2 separate regions of the Homo sapiens genome follow, and region 1 is linked to region 2. Evidence: promoter capture Hi-C in 16 types of primary human blood cells and fetal thymus (Javierre and others, 2016). All regions are on one chromosome and are shown on one strand. Each heading gives the region's core, a stretch centred on a gene start or on the middle of the fragment in contact. The rest is flanking DNA. Distances are from core to core; before and after follow the strand shown. Region 1 holds the start of LIMA1 (LIM domain and actin binding 1). Region 2 holds the start of TMT1A (thiol methyltransferase 1A).

Region 1 (4,660 bases), core at 1,997-4,496, 640 kb after region 2:
CTGGAGTTCAAGCGATTCTCCTGCCTCAGCCTCCTGAGTAGCTGGGACTACAGGCGCACACTACTACACCTGGCTAATTTTTGTATTTTTAGTAGAGATGGGATTTCACCATGTTGTCCAGGCTGGTCTCGAACTTCTGACCTCGTGATCCGCCCACTTGTGATCTGCCCACCTCAGCCTCCCAAAGTGCTGGGATTATAGGCGTGAGCCACCGTGCCCAGCTGACACCAATTCTTTTAAAGCAACAAATATCTTTACCAGTACAGAAGCTTATTCAACTGTGTACTGGAGATAAATCTCTAGGTAATTTTCTTCCAATATGTAGATGTCTCATCAATTATAGTGCATATTTGCCATTCTCTTCCAAGATTCTTAAATATGTTGACATAATTTCTTTTGCAGTATGTTCTGCTATTCTTGTTGCACCGTATCATGTATGTAAACATTTGCCTGTATCTACTCCATTTTTCCCTTTCAACTCTATTGTTCCCTTCACTATCAGATAAAGGCCTATGAGTTTTTTGTTTGAGACAGGGTCTTGTTCTGTCGCCCAGGCTGGAGTGCAGTGGTGTGATCTCGGCTCATTACAATCTCCAACTCCTGGGCTCAAGGCATCCTCCCACTTCACACTCCCAGGTAACTGGGATTACAGGCACACACCACCACACCCAGCTTTTTTGTCTGTTTATTTTATTTGTTTGTAAAGACAGGGTTTTGCCATGTTGGCCAGGCTAGTCTCTAACTCCTGGCCTCAAGTGATCCCTGCCTGGGCCTCCCAAAGTGCTGGGATTACAGGTGTGAGCCACTGCACCTGGCCCATGCCCATTCTTTAAGTATTGTCTATGGCTACTTTGGCACATTTGGCACTACAGTGAGAGCTGAGTAGCTGTGACAGAGACTATAAGTCCCACAAAGCCTAAAATATTTACTATTTGGCTGTTTACACAAAAGGTTTGCTAACATATGGTCTAGAAAAATCAACAAAACAATAAATCACGCCCTGACTTGCTGCATTTGCCCATTTCCATGGTGTAAATACTCCCCTTACAGCCAATTTCGTGCTACCAATGTGACATTTCTGAATAGAGTTGGGAAGAGATGCATACAACATATGTAGTATTTCCACAGGGAATACAATGGACAAATAACCTCAAGAGCAGAATTATTAGTAAAATGAAGAAAAAAACTACAAAGTGATGAGTTTTTAATATTTATTATATTTAAAAATTTTTTTTTAGAAATAGGGTCTCACTCTGTTGCCCAGGCTGGAGTGCAGTGGTGTGATCATAGCTCACTGCAACATCAAACTTCTAGCCTCAAGCCATCTTCCCGCCTTAGCCTCCCAAAGCACTGGGATTACAAATGTGACTCAACATGCCTGGCCTATTACTTTTATTTTTAAGATAATTTAATTGTAGCTTATATAATTTGATTTCTAATAATGGTTGTGCTTATGACCTGGCTCATAAAATCCCTGAAAATTTAGCAATCAACCTAATGCTAGCTCTATCTTCAAAAGGAGGCTTTGGGAAAGCAAGTAATTTTTGTATCCACTAAAGCACAGAGCTAAAAAAAATTGGGGGGAGGGGAGACATCTATTGAGGGAACGCCACATGCAGGGTAACGTATTTTCTGGAGTACTATCCTGTATTGATATTGTATGCTCTTTAGCATTCCCATGCTGTCTGCCACTTTTGCTGGAGTCTTGATACTTGATACTGTTAATGCAAAATAAGTAGCAGGCCATTAGTTTGGAGTTGTTTTTGTACCCAGAAAGCAACCCAAAATTTAGAGGTATTCCTTGCACCTTTTGTTTGTTTTGTTTTTTTGAGATGGAGTCTCGTTCTCTCATCCAGGCTGGAGTGCAGTGGCGAGATCTCTGCTCACTGCAATCTCCACTTCCCGGGTTCAAGTCATTCTCGTGCCTCAGCCTCCCGAGTAGCTGGGATTACAGGCACTTACCACCACGTCCGGCTAATTTTTGTATTTTTAGTGGAGACGGTGCTTCGCCATGTTGGCTAGGCTGGTCTCGAACTCCTAACCTCAGGGGATCCGCCTGCCTCAGCCTCCCAAAGTGCTGGGATTACAGGTGTGAGCCACCGCGCCCGGCCCCTTGTACCTGATTTTGAATGGAGTTTCAACCAATCACAAACAGACAACCAGCCAAGTGGTTATATAATTAGGGACCTCCCATGTGACCATACCCAAATAAGGCAAACGCTTAGCTGTAGCCAATCAAATTTCTTTACTTTCGTGTTCAGCCTATAAAGTTTGATGCCTGGGCAGCTAGAGCAGGGGTGTCTGAGCCTCTTTTGGTTCTGACTGTTGTCCGATTCAAAATCTAAGTTTGTTTTGTCTGAAATTTTTATTTCTACAATACCTATCCAGAAATCAGTCTAGGCTGGATATTTGAAGGAAGAAGGGAATAACTGGCTGGCATATTCATCACCTGTTGGAAATCTCTCTTCTCACACATTTTCATTAACTTCTTGAGGAAGTGTAATTACAAGCGTTTTCCCACGAGCAGCCCCTACTAATAACGCATCAAGCTGCATGAATTCCGAAAAGCTTCAGAAAACTTGTGGTCTGAAACCCTACTATGCTTGAGGTACAGGAAAGAAGGATACTATCAAAAGGCATCATGCAGCTGGCACGGAACTGGGACAAGAATTTGGGGGCAGGATGGCCAAGTGCTAGGCCAATTGACGGTCTCCAAACCATTAGCACAGCTCCTATTCTGAATGGAGGAGTAAAAACAGCTGTTGGAGAACTTGGACGTCATCTGCCCTTGTCAAACCGTTTTCAGGATTAATGTACTTAATTCAGCTTTTTCCACTACACCACACAGCCTCCTGTAAAACACCCTCCCTGCACACAACTTACCCCCAAAGCACCAGGAACCTAGCTGGCTAGAGTTGAGCTTAGGAAAAACCTGAGTGGCTCCAGAGTCAAACTGCGATAACGTTGAGTCAGAGGAGTTAAGGACAAAGTAGAGCTGCACAGAGGCCCACGTCGTGCAAGTGCGTGTCTCCTTCAGAGAAAAGCGTGCCGAGGTAGACTAGGCCCCGGGCAGCAAAAACCCTGTCCCGTCGCCAGCGCCCCGCACCGCCAGAGCGACTGGAGCAGACGCGAGCGCTGGGCACGTAGCCGGTGGCGCGCACGCTCAGCCCGAGGCCGCACGGGAGGCTGTCTGGCGTGCGCGCCCCCGCGGCGGTGGGCGGGGTCCGGGGCGGGGCCGCAGGAGCAGTAGGTGTTAGCAGCTTGGTCGCGACAGGTGCGCTAGGTAGAGCGCCGGGACCTGTGACAGGGCTGGTAGCAGCGCAGAGGAAAGGCGGCTTTTAGCCAGGTAAGGGCCTTCTCTCTCCACAACCGGAGAGTGCGGGAAGACCCCGGCTTCTCTCCACACCCTCTTTCTCCTTCGACTTTTGGGGCGGGGGGAGTGCAAGGAGTGTGAGTCCCTCCCCCTCGAGATAAGGGGTCGAGGGACGCTGATCCTCCGTTCTTTCCTCACTTCTGGGGCCTGCGCTGGGTGGGGAGTGCTTATGTCGGGCTGAGCCTTTGCTGCCCAAGGGCGGGAGCTGCAAATACCCCGTCCTCTCCCACCGAGAACACTGCATTCTAACTGTATACTTTCTGGTGTGGTGGAGGAAGGTGACAATTCATTAAAACTCCAAATACCCTCCTTCCAGGGAAATACTGTAATATTCAACTGTTCTTTTTCCTTCATTTTCAGCCATTCCCTCTCTTTTCGATTTTTTCTCCCTTCCATTACGCCAGCTGAACTCTGTTTAAGACACTTACACCCTTTTGAGGAATGTTGAGAATATAGCAGTCCTTGCAGCCGATGTGTCATCCCCGAATCGCTATCGTGTATATATCGCTGGCACTTGCCCCCGACATATGTTGGTGTTAATGTAAGGTAATTGTACACCCCTGGCTACACATACTAAAGCTTGAAGTTGTAGCTGCTAGGAACGAACCATCTGGCACCCTTCCTAGCCTCCTTACTGATGCTTGCAAGAACGGTTTAGCTGATCCTGGTGAGAGATATTTGAACTACTATTGTCTTGCACCTAATTCCAGCTTTCAAAAGTCTGCCTTGGACGGGCGCAGTGGCTCACGCCTATAATCCCAACACTTTGGGAAACTGAGGCGGGAGGATCGCTTGAGCCCAGGTGTTTGAGACCAGCCAAGGCAACTTAGCGAGACCCTTGTCTCTACAAAAAAATAAATAAATAAATAAAAATAAAAGATAAGTCTGCCTAATCCAGATCTGCCTAATCCAGATGGTTCAATTGACTTGACTTTTCAGGTTAGTCAAAGGTAATTAGGGAGTTATCAGTTTTTAAGGCAATGCCCATTTTGGGGAGAGGTTTTCTTTTGCATTAAGTATTCTTTCTTTTGCTCTTGATTTAAATGGTTTAACACAGTACCTTTTATCTGCTTGGTTACCAATACTATTCACAAATGCTAAATATTTCAGGAGCCATGAAATAACACCAATCCTTTCTTCTGAGGTATGATGTAGACACAAAAGAACATGACCCCTAACAACATGTTCTAAGTTCCTGTAGAGGTATAACCTGGGTGCAGGATGATCACGTTTTAGATAGATCTTCAAAAAATTATAGAGTTGGCGTGAAAGAAGGCAAAAAAAAGT
Region 2 (4,306 bases), core at 1,640-4,139:
GCAGTTAGCCAAGATCATGCCACTGTACACCAGCCTGGGCGACAGAGCAAGACTCTGTTTCAAAAAAAAGGAATATTTGCATTTGCATTAAAGAGAGCCATGTCTACTAGCTGTGTAACTTTGGGCAAATTCCTTAATCTCTCTGAGTCTGTTTCTTTGTCCTAACATGAAGATATGTACTTTAGAGGACTGTTGACAGGGTTAAATGAAAATGTAATAAAGTTCCCTTGTTATATCCAGCAGAGAGTGGGTGCTTGGCAGGAGCTAAGGAAGACTATCACGAATGTGATAACTTTAAGAGTTCAATTGATTTTTGGCACTGGAAAACTGAGATAATAATTACCTGCCTTGCAGCGGTGTTGGGAGATTAGTAACACTGTAAGCAAAACATCTACTAATGTGCCAGTTGGTGCCCAGTCTTAGCATATAAGAACCCAGCATTTGGGTATAAGAATCAGTCCTTTTTTATTTACTACTCTGATATTGAGCCAAGACAGGATTGTATGATTTTCCCTAAACCCTATCTCCAAGTTCTTTTCTTCCTGAGGAACTTCCTCTATTAGAAAATAAAACTGATGGTTGGGCATGGTGGCTCACACCTGTAATCCCAACACTTTGAGAGGCCAAAGTGGGCAGACCACTTGAGCCCAGGAGTTTGAGACCAGCCTGGGCAACATGGCGAAACCTCATCTCTACAAAAATACAAAAACTAGCTGGGTGTGGTGGTGCATGCCTGTAGTCCCAGCTGCTGGGAGGGTGGGGAGGCTGAGACGGAAAGATTGCTTGAGTCCAGCAGGTCAAGGCTGCAGTGAGCTGTGATCATGCCACTGCACTCCAGCCTGGGTGACAGAGGGAAACCCTGTCTCAACAAAAAATGAAAACTGGGGATTACAAAACATGCCTTTCCCCCAGAAGAGTAAATTCAAATGTTAAGATATCCATATCTTCAACTTTGTTCAGAATATAAAACGATTTTAAACTAGCTAAAAATAATAAGGGTAATATGTGAAAACTACATACAGGTATAAAGAATTACAGACTTTACGGAAAGGTTTAAAATGAAAAGTAATTCTTTCCCTGAATCCAATCCCATTCCCCAAAGGCAACCACTGTTAATAGTTACTTGTCTGTCATTCCCATTAACTTATACACATATATGTATCTCCTCTCCCTGCCTCACACAATGGGCATGTGGTGGGCCTACGCTCTACCTAACATTCTGTGGCTTGATTGCTTTTTGTTTTCATTAAACATTATCCCTTGGGGATTTTTAAGTATCAGCACAGATAACTCTTCTTGTTCTTTCTGACAGCTGCACAGTGTTCCTTTATACAATATGACAACTCACTTACATAGCATCCTATTGATAGACATTTCAGTTATTTCCAGTTTGTGCAATTACAAATTCTACTTAATATTCTTGTGTATGGACAAGTTTTTGCATGTGGATAAAAGAGTATGTGTGGTTTAAATTTTGATATTATCAGATACCACCCAAAGAGGGTACCTCTTCTAATGTGTATGGTGGTGTCCAGTCCCCTAAACCCACCCCAACCCTATACTGACCTTAAAAGAAGTCCCTAACAGTATAATAGGTAAAATTAGTATCTCCTTTAATTAACTCTTTAAGTTTGAGCACTTTTGTCCTATAATTGGTTTACATTTCTGTTCCTGTTATTTGCCCATTTTCCCTTTTGTTTTTCTTATTGAAAAATATTGATCTTATTGACATGTAATGTCTTTTAACATGAGGGAAGTTAACCCTTTGTCTATCATCCCTGGCAAATATTTTTTCCAAGCTTGTTTTGTAGTTTAACTTTGTTTTGGGGAGTTTTTTTTTCTTATTCTTTTTTTTCTTTCTTTCTTTTTTTTTTTTTTTTTTTTTTTGAGATGGAGTTTCACTCTGTTGCCTAGGCTGGAGTGCTGTGGTGCAATCTTGGCTCACTTTAACCTCTGCCCCACCAGGTTCAAGCGATTCTCCTGCCTACAGGCACCTGCCACCATGCCTGGCTAATTTTTGTATTTTTAATAGAGATGGGGTTTCACCATATTGGTCAGTCTGGTCTCGAACTCCTGACCTCAAGCGATCTGCCTGCCTTGGCCTCCCAAAATGCTGGGATTACAGACGTGAACCACTGTGCCCGGCCAGGAGGTTTTTTCTTTATAGCAGTTTTAAGTTTTTATATTCAGATTTATCAATCTTTCTCTTTATAGCTTCTCTCCCACGCTAAAATTTTAAAAAATTCTACAGTATTTTCTAGTAGTTTACTTTTTATGTTAAAATGTTTCAGCCACCTGAAATTGACAGGCCTGCCCTCTATGATAATAGCTGCTACTAACTAGTCCTCCTCACACCCTTTCACTCACCGGTCTCAGCACTCTGCACACCTCGCGGAGAATCCGCTCCTGGTTCTTCACAGAGCACAGCACCAGGGTGCAGACCACCACATCCACAGAGCCATCAGCCACCTGGTGCATGTTCTCCCCGGCAGCTACCACAAAGCGCTCAAACTGCAGGTGTCGGTTCTCTGCAATGCTCTTGATCAAAAACTTCTCAAAGTTGGGGTTGGGGTCAATACAGGTCACCCTGCACCCAGGTGGGTAGAACTTGAAGTTGGCCCCCGTGCCACAGCCCACTTCCAGCAGGGAGAGTTTCCCGGAGGGGCCCGCAAACTCCTGCAGGTTACTGAAGAGCTCCCGCTTCTTGCTTGCCATCTGTTCGTTGTATATCACAGTGAACCTCACCAAGAAGTAGGGGAACCATTTTTTGCATATCCAGCTCCACAAGCCCAGAAAGTTCAGCAGGTACAAGGGAAATGTCAGGATGTAAATGGCCAGTCTCAGGATAAAGATGGTAAGCTCCATTGCTCAGAAGGGAAAAAAACAGATCAACAGTTAGAGACCCGACTCCTTTAATTGCAGGAGAGAGGCTTCTGGCCACACTCCAGAGCCAATCAGCTGCAGAGGAGAAAAAGAACTGGCTGTGCTGGAAAGTCAAATCATGGGCAAGAGGCCAATTTTGCCTAATAGATGTTTGGCAGCAGTCGATTCAGCTTAGTTTTCATAAGGCAAAATGAGAAGGTTCCCAGCTTTTCCTCAGAAGGAAAGTGGATTATAATCCTTTATTCCTAATCGATTCCTGTTTCCCCTTCTCTGGGTTTGGAGACAGCTGCTAGCTTCCTGCTAGAGTTTTATAAGCGCAGTGTACTTACACCCCACCGGGCTCTCCAGTGACCTCTAAAAGAAAACAGAATTCGTGGGTGGAGCCTGGTCAAACCACACCAGAAGAGTGCTGCCAAGGCCCCTTTATCATAACACATCCCCCTTACTTCCCCCGCCCAAACCCTGTTTTTTTTTTTTTTTTTTTTTTTTTTAAAAAAAAAAAAAGGAAGTGAAAGGACATGCATGCCCGGCCACAGTCAGCAAGAATTCTCTCTTTTACATTCTGGGCAGAGGCTCTCAGTGTTCACAACTCAACGTTTTTGTAAACCAAAAATAATGTTCTAAGGCCTCTAACCATCTGAATGGACTTTCTCCTTGGCCAGGGCGCTTTTAAAATTTAACTTGAGAGATTGTTTCAGGCCATGAGGGGAAGTGGGGGTCAGATATGCCTCATTATACCTCAAGCCGGCATTCACATCAACGCAGACCTTAAGTACATTTACAATCTATTCTCTCTGAAGCCTGCTACTTGGAGGCTTCATCTGCATAATAAAACTTCAGTCTCCACAACTCTTATTGCAACCCAGACATTTCCTTTCTATTGATCCCAGGTCTTTAGATAAACTCAACCAATTGTCAACCAGAAAAATTTAAAACGTACCTATAACCTGGAAGCTCCCTGCCTCGCGTCGGGTTGTCCTGCCTTTCTGGACTGAACCAATGTATTTCTTAAATGTATTTGATTGAAGCCTCATGTCTCCCTAAAATGTAGAAAACCAAGCTGTACCCTGACCACCTTGGGCACATGTTCTCAGGATTTCCCGAGGGCTGTGTCACAGGACATGGTCACTCATATTTGGCTCAGAATAAATCTCTTTAAATATTTTACAGAATTTGACTCTTTTTGTTGATATTTTAAAATCACTGTTTTGGGCTGTACTTCCCCTTTTAAAACAATTTTTGGCTCAAGGAAGTCAGTTTGTGGGCTGCCCTTCTTTTAAAGGACAAGCCTCAGTCTTCAAAATGTGCCTAACTACTCGATTACTCAGCTAATTTGGATAAAAATATTTCCCAGAATATTCACATTTGGGAGCCAAAGGGATTCAGAAAATAGTTTCAAGCATCCATCCGCTTTTTACAAGAA

The links. Contacts are between HindIII fragments. The CHiCAGO score rates a contact against its expected background, and 5 or more counts as called.
Region 1: a contact is called between the fragment with the promoter of LIMA1 here and the fragment with the promoter of TMT1A in region 2, in 5 of 17 cell types (erythroblasts, M2 macrophages, megakaryocytes and 2 more). The highest score is 13.0, in erythroblasts.

The regions. Positions count from the first base shown.
Region 1 is chr12:50,282,106-50,286,765 of GRCh38, reverse strand. It overlaps LIMA1 (LIM domain and actin binding 1), which reads left to right and starts at 3,246. Exons shown (of 11, transcript NM_016357.5): 1 at 3,246-3,346. LOC107984505 (a long non-coding RNA gene) reads right to left here and starts at 3,145. Exons shown (of 2, transcript XR_001749144.2): 1 at 2,884-3,145. RefSeq lists a silencer at 3,026-3,335. The HindIII fragment of the contact is 1,384 bases long and covers 2,571-3,954 here.
Region 2 is chr12:50,923,598-50,927,903 of GRCh38, reverse strand. TMT1A (thiol methyltransferase 1A) reads right to left here and starts at 2,889. Exons shown (of 2, transcript NM_014033.4): 1 at 2,368-2,889. The coding sequence starts at 2,865. RefSeq lists enhancers at 2,009-2,552, 3,566-3,775. The HindIII fragment of the contact is 3,129 bases long and covers 1,802-4,306 here.